Regions from separate parts of the Homo sapiens genome. Here region 1 is linked to region 2. The links are contacts of gene promoters, found by promoter capture Hi-C in human tissues and cell types (Jung and others, 2019). All regions are on one chromosome and are shown on one strand. Each heading gives the region's core, a stretch centred on a gene start or on the middle of the fragment in contact. The rest is flanking DNA. Distances are from core to core; before and after follow the strand shown.

Region 1 (5,682 bases), core at 1,591-4,090, 40 kb before region 2:
AATGTCACCATTGAAGAGCTAAGATTGGGCTTTTGAGATCTCTTTTCAGGTTTTTTGCATGTCTGACTACCTATGGCTCCACCTGGACCTGCCAAAGGCCCCTGTGGCCCCACCGAGAACAACTCAGCACAAGAGGACAGCTTCAATCTCCTATGATTTCATATCCAACCCACCCAATCAGCACTCCCCATGCCCTAGCTCCCTGCCTACCAAAGTATCTTTGAAAAACCCCTAACCACTGAACTTTCGATGAGATTGATTTGAGTAATAACTCCATCTTTCCCATGGTGTGGCTGGCCTCGCTTCAGTTAAACTCTCTCATGGCAATGCCGTGGTGTCTGCGAATTCATTTTGTTTGTGCAGTGGGCAGAAAGAATCCATTGGGCACTTATGCTATACACCCTTACTCGTTTGCAAATATGGGAAAATCCTGATATTTGATAGAGGTGGAGAACATGTTTTCTTAAAAACTATGTTACATTGTAATAATTTTATTACACAGTAAACATTTTAGTTGGAAGAAAGTATATTAATATGCTAAAAGAATGGTATTTATAAGAATAACGCTTCGCAATGATTCAATTCCAACCATTTTAATCAATAATAATAACCTTAATAATCATGAAAATAAGGGATTTTCAATTTTCCCTTATTTCATAAGCATTCAATTTTTGTCTTCAATATTCCTAAGCAGAATTCTTTAAAAATAGAACTCAGTACTACCATTATGTGGAAACCAAATTCAGTTATTATTTGCTCATGAAGGGACGCCATTATGCTATTTATGTAGTTATAATATCTTAATCACCACTATGGCATTCAGAATTCTCTGCAGGAATGTACCAGAGCAGCTATGAGAAGATTTTTGTGTGTAGTGAATTATAAATAAATATATTCAATAACGGAGAAAGCAAAAGAAGGAAATTGCCTAGATTCCCTTCGTTTGTGGTAACACTTGCTTTCCCTATACCAAAAGCTACTTCACCGAGTTCATGAGCTCTCTTAAAAACAACTAAGATGTAAATTCTATCCTGTTTGCCTAAGATCTTTGTGGAGATAAACAGACAATGGCAACTTTGTTCAGTGCTCTGAGTCTTGAAGTATGGAAATGAGCTGGCCCTCCAAAGATATTTTAGGTGATCGGCAAGAGGAAGGAGGTGGGGAGAAAATCAGACAATAACAATTGCTGGAACTGACTACCAAATTGAGAATGAATCAGGTTTTCTTCCATGGACACCATTGCTCTTCTTCCTAGGGGCTAAGCATGTGTTTCATTCTTAAAGAATTTTTTTAGGTTAGCCATCAACAGATCCATGTCTTAGAAACATGGTTGAATTCTTGATCCAAAAAATACATTTCATGGTCCTAAATTCTAGCCTCAAAATCCAACGAATAAAGCACCAGTGGCAAGAGAAATAATAGTGCCAAGGCAGGGAGGGAGTATGGGCTGATGAGACCTCAGGCTCCTAGAGTCTATGCATGTGCCCATTCAGAGTTGTATGTGCCAGTTTGGTTTTGACCATTCTCCCTGTCCCATCTGACTAGGTAAATATTTAAAGGGTGAAGGTAGTAACAGCCAAACAAGTGATGCTGCAGGTTTATCTACAAATTCAAAAGGAGTCAAGGGTTTCAACATTAGATGTGTAAAGTCCTTGTATTGGTTCGAACCCCGAGAGCACACCAACAAATAACACGAGGCGGTATGGAGCAACATGCTGTTTTAATGAGTGCCTGGGTGCAGGCGGGCTGAGGCCTAAAATGGCATCAGCACCAAGTGAGGATGGGGCAAAGGTTTTATAGTCTCCTGTAAACAGGAAGTGTCCTAGTCTGACCTAACTGCTACGTTGTACCTGGATAGCCTCTTTCTTGATCTTCAGAGGTACATGTCTTCCGGCTGGCTCTCTTCCTGCTTCTGCTATCTTGCTGGCGCACGCTGCTGCTGCAAGTAGCTTTGCACCTTGGTACCAGGCCTGAGAAGGGAGGAGTTATTCATCTCCTTAAGCTTTCAGGCCTGGGGAAGAACCTTAAAAGATGTACCTGTGAAGCTCTTGCTTCCTACACATCAAGAAGAGAAGCACTTCTCTAACTTTTTAGTTACCTGAGCCTTATTTCCTGTTTGTTTGTTTGTTTGTTTTGAGGGCGAAGTAAATGTGACGTGCTTTTGATATCTATGCCATCGTACTAATGCCAAATTGAAATTATTATGGTGATGACTTACGTGTAGATGCTATTTCATGTTGTTATTATTTTTTATATTAAAAACCATTGGATTCTGGCCAGGTGCAGTGGCTCACACCTGTAATCCCAGCACTTAAGGAGGCCAAGGTGGGTAGATCACCTCAGGTCAGGAGTTTAAGACCAGCCTGGCCAACATGGCAAAACCCTGTCTCTACTAAAAATACAATAATTAGCCAGGTGTGGTGGTGAGAGGTGAAGCCAGCTGGACTTCCTGGGTCGAGTGGGGACTTGGAGAAGTTTTCTGTCTAGCTAGAGGATTGTAAATGCATCAATCAGTGCTCTGTGTCTAGCTAAAGGATTGTAAACACAACAATCAGCACTCTGTAAAAATGCACCAATCAGCACTCTGTGTCTAGCTAAAGGTTTGTAAATGCACCAGTCAGCACTCTGTAAAATGGAGCAATCAGTGCTCTGTAAAATGGACCAATCAGCAGGACGTGGGCAGGGCCAAATAAGGGAATCAAAGCTGGCCACCTGAGCCAGCAGTGGCAACCCACTGGGTCCCCTTCCACACTGTGGAAGCTTTGTTCTTTCGCTCTTCGCAATAAATCTTGCTGCTGCTCACTCTTTGGGTCTGCACTACCTTTATGAGCTGTAACACTCACCTCAAGGGTCTGCGGCTTCATTCCTGAAGTCAGCGAGACCACAAACCCACCGGGAGGAACAAACAACTCCGGACACGCCACCTTTAAGAGCTGGAACACTGACTGCGAAGGTCTGAGGCTTCACTCCTGAAGTCAGCGAGACCACCAACCCACTGGAAGGACGAAACTCTAGACACATCTGAACATCTGAAGGAATAAACTCTGGACATACCATCTTTAAGAACTGTAACATTCATGACGAGGGTCCACGGCTTCATTCTTGAAGACAGCAAGACCAAGAACCCACCAGAAGGAACCAATTCTGGACACAGGGGCACATGACTGTAATCCCAGCTACTCGGGAGGCTGAGACAGGAGAATTGCTTGAACCTGGGAGACAGAGGTTGCAGTGAGCCAAGATTGTACCACTGCTCTCCAGCCTGGGTGTCAGAGCAAGACTCTGTCTCAAACAAACAAACAAAAAACATCAGATTCTCCTTCCTATTTAAAAACAAACAAGCAAGCAAACAAACAAACAAAAAAAACTTTAAAGCACAGTATTACTTTTACTAGCATGTAAAAGATGAACTGTATAAAAATGTAGACAGACCGGGAAAAAATGGCAGATAGGAAGCAGGACTAACTTGCAGTTCCCACTTGAACAGACAAAGCAGCATTTGGAGACTCACACTGTGAAATTTTGCCCCAAGAACTACCATAGGAACATACCAAAAAAGCTGAAAGAATCCACAGACACTTTAAAGGGGGTGGATTGCTGCTGCAGGCTGCATGGGACAGCCAAGGAACTGTGAGTCTGCTTGCTTTCTCAGCTGGGAGGCTTGTAGCCTGGGGCAATTTCTCAGCCCTGCTCACTGCCTGCCTGGAAATAAACTCGGTGCTTCGGTGCTGTTGTGGGGGCACAGTGGGAATGAGGCTGGCCTTTCAAGCTGCAGGCTGCAGGCTCCATGGGAGCTGGGTGAGGCTTGTGGCTGCTGGCTTTCTCCCACTTCCTTGGCAACCTATGTGACACAGCAGAGGTAGCCATAATTTCCCAGGAACATAATTCAACTGGACTGGAAACAACATCCCATCCCCCACAGCAGCCACGGCAAGCCCCACCCAAGGAGAGTCTGAGCTCAGACATGCCTAACCCTGCCCCCACCTGATGGTCTTTCTCTACCTGCCCTGGTAGCCAATGACAAAGGACATAACCTCTTGGGAGCTCTATGGACCTGCCCACCACCTGAGAATCCTGAATACTTATCCAAAGGCAACTCTAGGGAAAGCTTGTATCCTCCATATACTACTGCAGCTGATGCACTCTTGAAGGCTCCACCTCCTGGCTGAAGGCCAACCAACACAAAATCAGGGCATTCAACAAAAATACAACCAAGTACCCTCCCAGAGTCCAATTGACTCCCCTGCTACCTCCATCAGAGCAGGTGCTGGTATCCGTGGCTGAGAGACCTGAAGACAGATCACATCACAGGACACTTTGCAGGCACTCCCCAGTACCAGCTCAGAACCCAGTAGCTCTGCTGAGTGGCTAGATCCAGAAGAGAAATAACAATCACTGCAGTTCAGCTCTCAGGAAGCCCTATCCCTAGGCAAGGGGGAGAGCAACACATCAAGGGAGCAGCCCAGGGACAAAAGAATCTGAACAGCAACCCTTTAGTTCCAGATTTTCCCTCTGACATAGTGTACTCAAATAAAAAGGAATAAAAAAAACAATTCTGGTAATATAACAAAACAAGGTTCTTTGACACCTCCAAAAGACCACACTAGCTCCCCAGCAATGAATCCAAACCAAGAAGAAATATATGAATTGCCAAAAAAAGAATTCAGAAGGTTGGTTATTAAGCTAATCAAGAAGGCACCAGAGAAAGGTGAAGTCCAACTTAAAGAAATCAAAAAAATGATACAGGATAGGAATGGAAAAATCTCCAGTGAAATAGATAGCATAGATAAAAAAACAATCACAACCTCTGCAAATCAAGAACACACTTGGAGAAATGCAAAATGCACTGGAAAGCCTCAGCAATAGAATTGAACAAATAGAAGACAGAACTTCAGAGCTTGAAGACCAGCCTTCTGAATTAACCCAATCTAATAAAGACAAAGAAAAAAGAACTTAAAAAAATGAACATAACCTCCAAGAAGTTTGGGATTATGTTAAACAATCAAACACAAGAATAATTGGTGTTCCCAAGGAAGAAGAAAAATCTAAAAGTTTGGAACACATATTTGAGGGAATAATTGAGGAAAATGTCCCCATGATTGCTAGAGATCTAGACATCCAAATACAAGAAGCTCAAATAACACCTGGGGAATTTCATTTCAAAAAGATCGTCACCTAGGCACATAGACATCAGGTTATCTAAAGTCAAGATGAAGGAAAGAATCTTAACAGCTGTGAGGCAAAAGCATCAGGTAGCCTATAAAGGAAACCCTATCCGATTAACAGCAGATTTATCAGTAGAAACCCTACAAGATAGAAGGGATTGCTTCCCATTTTTAACCTCCTTAAACAAAACAATTATCAGCCAAAAATTTTGTACCCAGTGAAACTAAGCTTCATAAATAAAAATACAGTCTTTATTCAGACAAACAAGTGCTACCAAGCCAGCACTACAAGAACTGCTAAAAGGAGCTCTAACTCTTGAAACAAGTCCTCAAAATACACCAAAATAGAATATCCTTAAAGCATAAATCTCACAAGACCAACAAAACAATAACACAATGCCAAAAAAAAAGGTATTCAGGCAAGAAATAACACAATGAATAAAATAGTACCTCACATCTCAATACTAACGATGAATATAAATGCCCCAAATGTTCCACTTAAAAGATACAGAATTGC
Region 2 (5,589 bases), core at 1,182-3,681:
TTTTCTATAATAGTAATTCTTCAAATTTTTAAAATCAGTTTTAAACAGAGGTCTAGGAATGAAAGACAGCCACAGTTCTAAATATTTGATTTGCTGTGATAGATAAGTGAATAAAATAGATTCTAAAGACTGGAAACCCCATAATGGACTAGCAATGCCTAGTAGCTCATCAATCAAGCAAATTCAATAAGTTGATCTGATCATGCCCAATTCCCCCGTTAGCTACTAAAACTTTTCAATTTATGCCCATTTTAAGCATAGAACTATATTCAAATACAGTTCTAATGATATTCTTGCTCAACTTCTGAAAGGCACAGGCTAAAAAATTTGCATGTTTTGCAACAGCCTAGAAGTAGAGTTCATGTATTATCAGGTTGGCCTGAATTTCCTCACTGCTGTGATATAATGGATAGTACCAACTCCAAGAATTCATAGAACATGGATGGATACACAGGGAACCAAACCAAGAGCGAGTAAGTTAAATGGTTAGTTCATTCAAGGAGCGCTCATCAATTGCCTACCAGGCATGTGTCAGTTAAATACAGCTCAGGGAACACTAGCTTGTTTCTTTCAACTCAGGAAACATTTATTCTATTGGAGAATGAGGATTTTCCCCATATGAAGGACTGACTCTGGGTTAAAAGTTAATAACAAATCAGCAAGTTGTATTACAATGGTTTGCTTGTGGAATGATTTGTTTACTCTTTTTCAATTTTCCAAATTTTCAATAGTGTGTTTATATGGCATTGATAACTTTAAAACTCCTTTACAATTAAGCTGAAATAAAAAGAAATCTATAAAACAAAAAAACCCCAGCAAATATACAAATTTTAAAAATTAAACTCTTATGTCTATTCAAGTCCTTTGCCCATTTGTATCAGGTTATTTGACTTTTTGTTGCTGAGTTATAGGAGCTCTTTATATATTCTGGATATTAATCATATCAGAGATCTAACATTGTCAAATTCATAGAAGCAAAAGGTAGGATGGTAATTACCAAGTGCTAGAGGGGAGAGGAAAAGGGGGAGCTGTTTGATGGACAAAGTTTCAGGTTTGCAAGATGAAGAAATTCTGAAGATCTATTTTAAAGCAATGTGACTGTATGTTAACACTACTGAACTGTACATTAAAAATGATAAAAATGTGGTGTTTACCCCAATTTTTAAAAATGCATGAAAATAAAACACTTGTGACAGAATAATAAATCAGCTTCTGTTTAAAAAGAAACCTGCATCAGGCAAACAAGTCCTATAATGGTAATTCTTCAAAGAACCAAAGTTCACTACTACCAGATGTGTTATTACTAAACCATTAATAAGAATAAGACCTACTGGAAGTGCATAAGGCTAATATTTCAGTTTCAGCAAAAGCAACAACAAAATTCTAATGTCGTAATAAGGTAGGTTTAACTAGTTAATGCTTTTAAAAAAATAGTTGAGTTTTTCTTTGTTAATTTATAGAAATCATCTGAATGCAAAATAAGCAATCAAGGATTCATTTATTTTTATTTGCCCTAGTTTGGTCAAATTGTTGATAGAATAATGTTTAGAACTAATTTTTAAACCTGAATGAACCATTTTTATTTTTTCTTTTCTCTCTCTTTCTTTCTTTCAAGACAAGGTCTTGCTCTGTTGCCCAGGCTGGAGGGCAGTGGCAGGATCAGAGCTCACTGCAGCCTTTTACTCCTAGCTTCAAGTGATCCTCCCGCCTGGGCCTCCCAAAGCCTGGTGTTTCCTTTAATGATTTAAAAATGTTATTCTAGTGTTGGTCTTTGCAAAGCCCTTTAAAACCGCCAACTTCAGCTTGTTCGATTTTGAAATGCGTGGCCTGAGAAATCTCCTAGGTCTTGAACATTATAAATGGGTACTATGCTCATTTTGAGGGAGCCCTGGTTTACACAAACCTGCTGCTGAACTTAGCCGTACTTACAACAAGCACTTTATTGATCTATTATAATTGATGTATTAAAATAAACAAACGAACATCACCTCCTGTCTGTAAAGCAAAACACATTTTGACTTTGGAGTTAACGTTTGCGACAGCCTTCTAACCTATGGACGTGTTCCTCAGAACTGGGTTTCTAGAAAAGCTAGGAGAAGACCCCAGCGCAGGGGAGAGGAGAGGGCGAATTGGGAAAGAACTGCTAGGGTAATCACTTCCTCGACTGGGCATGGGGTGGCACCTGAGCCCTGGCACGCGGGGCTGGGAGGGCGAGTCGCCAGCGGAGGCGAGGCCAGAAAGTCAGAGGAAAGAGGGGACCAGAGAGCCACAAAGGCAGAGCTGGAGAAGGCAGGGCGGGCAGCGGGGGCGAGGGAGAGAAAAAGAGGGAGGCGGAGCTGCCCGGGCGGGCGGGGGCGGGGGCGCGGGCGGGAGCGGGCGCGGAGGCGGCGCCGCAGCCCCAGCCGGGCCGGACGCGGGAGGGTCAGGGCCAGGGTGAGCGCCCGACTCCGAGCTGTCCCCGCTCCCGGCGCGGCGCTCCGCTCTCAGCCACCTCACGGCTGCCAGGAGTGCGCGGGAGTTTGCCCCGGAGCGCGGGGAAGTTTCCTCCGAAGCTGCGCTCCTGGAACAGCAGCACCTGCAAGCGCCCGGCAGCGGCCCGCGAGGTAACCGCGCTGGGGCTGGGGTTGGGGCTGGGGGGCACTGGAGGGGCAGAGATGATGGCGCGCTGCTGGGTACCCGCGCCGGGAGCGGGCTCTGGTGGGCGGGGACGTGCGCCCTCACCTTTCCAGGTGCTTCGCCGCTGGAGATGCGGGAGGCTTCTTCCTTTTTCTATCTCCCCTACCTCCAGTATTCCAACCCACTTCCCTTCACTTCAGTGGACGCATGGCGGGAGGTGGGGGGCGGGAGCAGGAGGGGATCCTGACTTTGAGGGGGCGCTGGAGAAGGACGGCCGCCTGAACTTGTCAGCTACCTGAGTTTCCTTCCTGCGCCCCGGCGGGGCACCCTGGACTCCAGGATTCCGGGGTCAGACCCCTCTTGGGGCATGCAGAGGTTGGAAAGAGGACGGCAGGAACAGTCTTTAGTTTCTGCTGCCAGTCTGTCGGGTCCTCCAGGGTGTGTGGCAGAAAGACGAGCATCTCTGCTGCGGGGGTGCCTCCTTTGCGTCAGTCTCAAACTCCGCGACCTGGCTCAGGCTCAGGCGCAGGCTGCGGGAGAGGTGGGAGGGAAGTTAGGGGGACCGGGAGGCCAGGTGCGATCGTGGCCAGAGCAGAGGGGTTGGGAGGGGCGATCTGAGGAGGGGCTCCAAGTGGGTTGCGGGGAGAAGGAATGGTGTGTTTGTTTCTGCTGCTGTTACTTTCACAGGGTTGCCTGCTCCCTCTTCTGCCCCGTTTGAACATCCTGCCTATCAGCATGTTTCTGTTAGAAGGTGTTATGGTTGATGTCTGTCAGGAGTTATTTCCAACTAAGTTCACAGGTGCTAAGTCTAGAGCTGCAGGCCTTCCTCCTTTCTCTCTCTCTGCGGTCCACCCCCAGCTCCCTCCCACAAACATACTGTGCCTGAATAATCCCCAGCGTTTTGAAAGCGATGGCAAGTGAATAATACACAATGTGTGTGTGTGACTTTTTTCTCCCTATTATGCTATCAGATCCAAATCAAAACGCCGTGGATGCTTAACAGGACTCCCTTTTCGCAGTTTTTCTGATAATTGAGAGTATTACCAATGTTTATTTTTCTTCGCTTTAACCTCAGAATTGCATTAATCTATCTTTGTACAATTTTATTTACATTGTTATTATTCCTCTCGGTTTGAAGGACAGGGGCCTCTTTTCAACTCACATATACACATCCAAATGCATTGTGACCATATTTAGTATTTATCTGTCTTCTGATTCAGTTGGCTGGCACCTGTTAATTCCAGTACCTAATCATAACACCATATGCCTGCCAACCAACGTGAGGATAAGGTGAATGCTATTGTTTTTCATGGGCAAGAGCACCCTGAACTACCACTTTTTATTATTGCTCAAAGGGTGTAAGAGCTTCAATCAAAGTGAATCAAATTTACAAAACAATATTACAATTCTACACCATACGATCAAACAGTATGATTCCTAGGCACTTACAGCTGACTAGTAATTGAGGAAAAATTAAAATCCTCTCATCATATGGAAAACATTTAGATTGCATATCGTCAATAAGAAATAGCACACACTGAATGCCCCCAGAAAACGAGAAGAATGTTCCTCTTACCTCATTTGGTTTTTATCCCCTTCATTACAGTACCGTCCTCCAGAAAATGAGCACCTTGCATATAGATGTTGGTATGTACTAACTAAACACCATATTTTTTAATACAGAGGCTTGGTGATAGTCCAAAAACATAAATGTTTTAAATCATTACCAACCATCTGTTCTCTCCCACTCACTTACAGCACAATGTTTTATTTTCACAGGTATCAAAACGTACTTACTCATTTCATACATTCCCATGACTATCCTGAAAGCTGTAATGGTATCCAATGTTGACTCAAGTTCAGTAACTGTTGTGTTTGGCTTATTACACCATAAGCTCTGCTTCTTTTATTTTCAATGAAAGAAGACATTCTAAAAGTTTCAAAGCACTTGGCCAAGGCTGGTGTATACTCCAGTAAAAATCTGATTGCTTTCCCCCCACCCCCCACCTTTTTGTTAACAGAGAGAAGCTAGAAATTAGTGCAGCTGCAGGGCCCTCCTGATGACCTTCTTTTCCTTTCTTCCTGGTCACAAGGGTAGCATTTGATGCTCTGAAGAAGTGCATTAAAAAGCCCTGTGACTTCAGAAACTTAGTATGGTTTCCAGGAGAATGTAACATCTTCCAAGGAAGAATTTACAAAATAAGAGACTAACTTACTCTTACAAATTCCAAATTCAGTAAACCTAAGAAATACACATTGTTTCCCACATCAGTATTGCATATGAATAGCATAGGATGTGAGATAGGATATGAATAACATGTTTACCTGTTATTATATACTTTATATTTGTATTTGGGAATCTGGATGAGTTGGGATGTAATCAGCAGATAGATTCACACTCTTTGTTTGGTTGATGTCATCAATAAAGCAAGATTTGAGATATTCAGTTCCCTATCCAAGAAAGATTTCCCATTTAGGGGTGTTTGCTCTAATTAGAGCTTCAATATTACGGTATTTTATCATTCCAAATTAAGTTACATAATACATCCTTTGTTCCTTTAGCCTAGCCAGCACATTAGGAAAATTCTTTTCACTCAAATATGGGTGCAATGTCCCAAAGCATTTTCATATTTTTTGAGGAAAAAGATAGTGATGATCTTTTTCACACTTTGCAAATAATTGATGTGTACTTGAAGATTATCAGGAACCAAGAAAAAGTGGGCCATTATCACCAGCTACAGTGTTCTATACTGCTCTTTTCCCTGAAAGCGTTAAGATTCTCCTAACTTAGAAGAATGGCTTTGGACAGAATAAACCCAAACTACAGATAATTTTGAAAGTAAAGTTGCCTTTAAAAATATAGTCTAATTAAAACCTTTGGATATTACATAAGAACATGTTACATCTTATTTTTCTGTATCCTAAAAATGAATTATTGAGGAGAAACAGTTTCACCATGTATAGTAAATACTC

Evidence for each region. The method cuts DNA at HindIII sites, captures the fragments that hold promoters and counts their contacts. A contact is called where the count stands out against the background at its distance.
Region 1: a contact is called between a fragment that was not itself captured here and the fragment with the promoter of CHST9 in region 2, in 4 of the 25 tissues and cell types used here (aorta, heart left ventricle, hippocampus and 1 more).

What each region holds. Positions count from the first base shown.
Region 1 is chr18:27,222,130-27,227,811 of GRCh38, reverse strand. LINC01908 (long intergenic non-protein coding RNA 1908) reads right to left here and starts at 3,752. Exons shown (of 7, transcript XR_002958212.2): 1 at 3,552-3,752; 2 at 3,055-3,212. RefSeq lists an enhancer at 3,888-4,411. The HindIII fragment of the contact is 3,822 bases long and covers 930-4,751 here.
Region 2 is chr18:27,182,150-27,187,738 of GRCh38, reverse strand. CHST9 (carbohydrate sulfotransferase 9) reads left to right here and starts at 2,431. Exons shown (of 6, transcript NM_031422.6): 1 at 2,431-2,603. The HindIII fragment of the contact is 14,900 bases long and covers 1-5,589 here.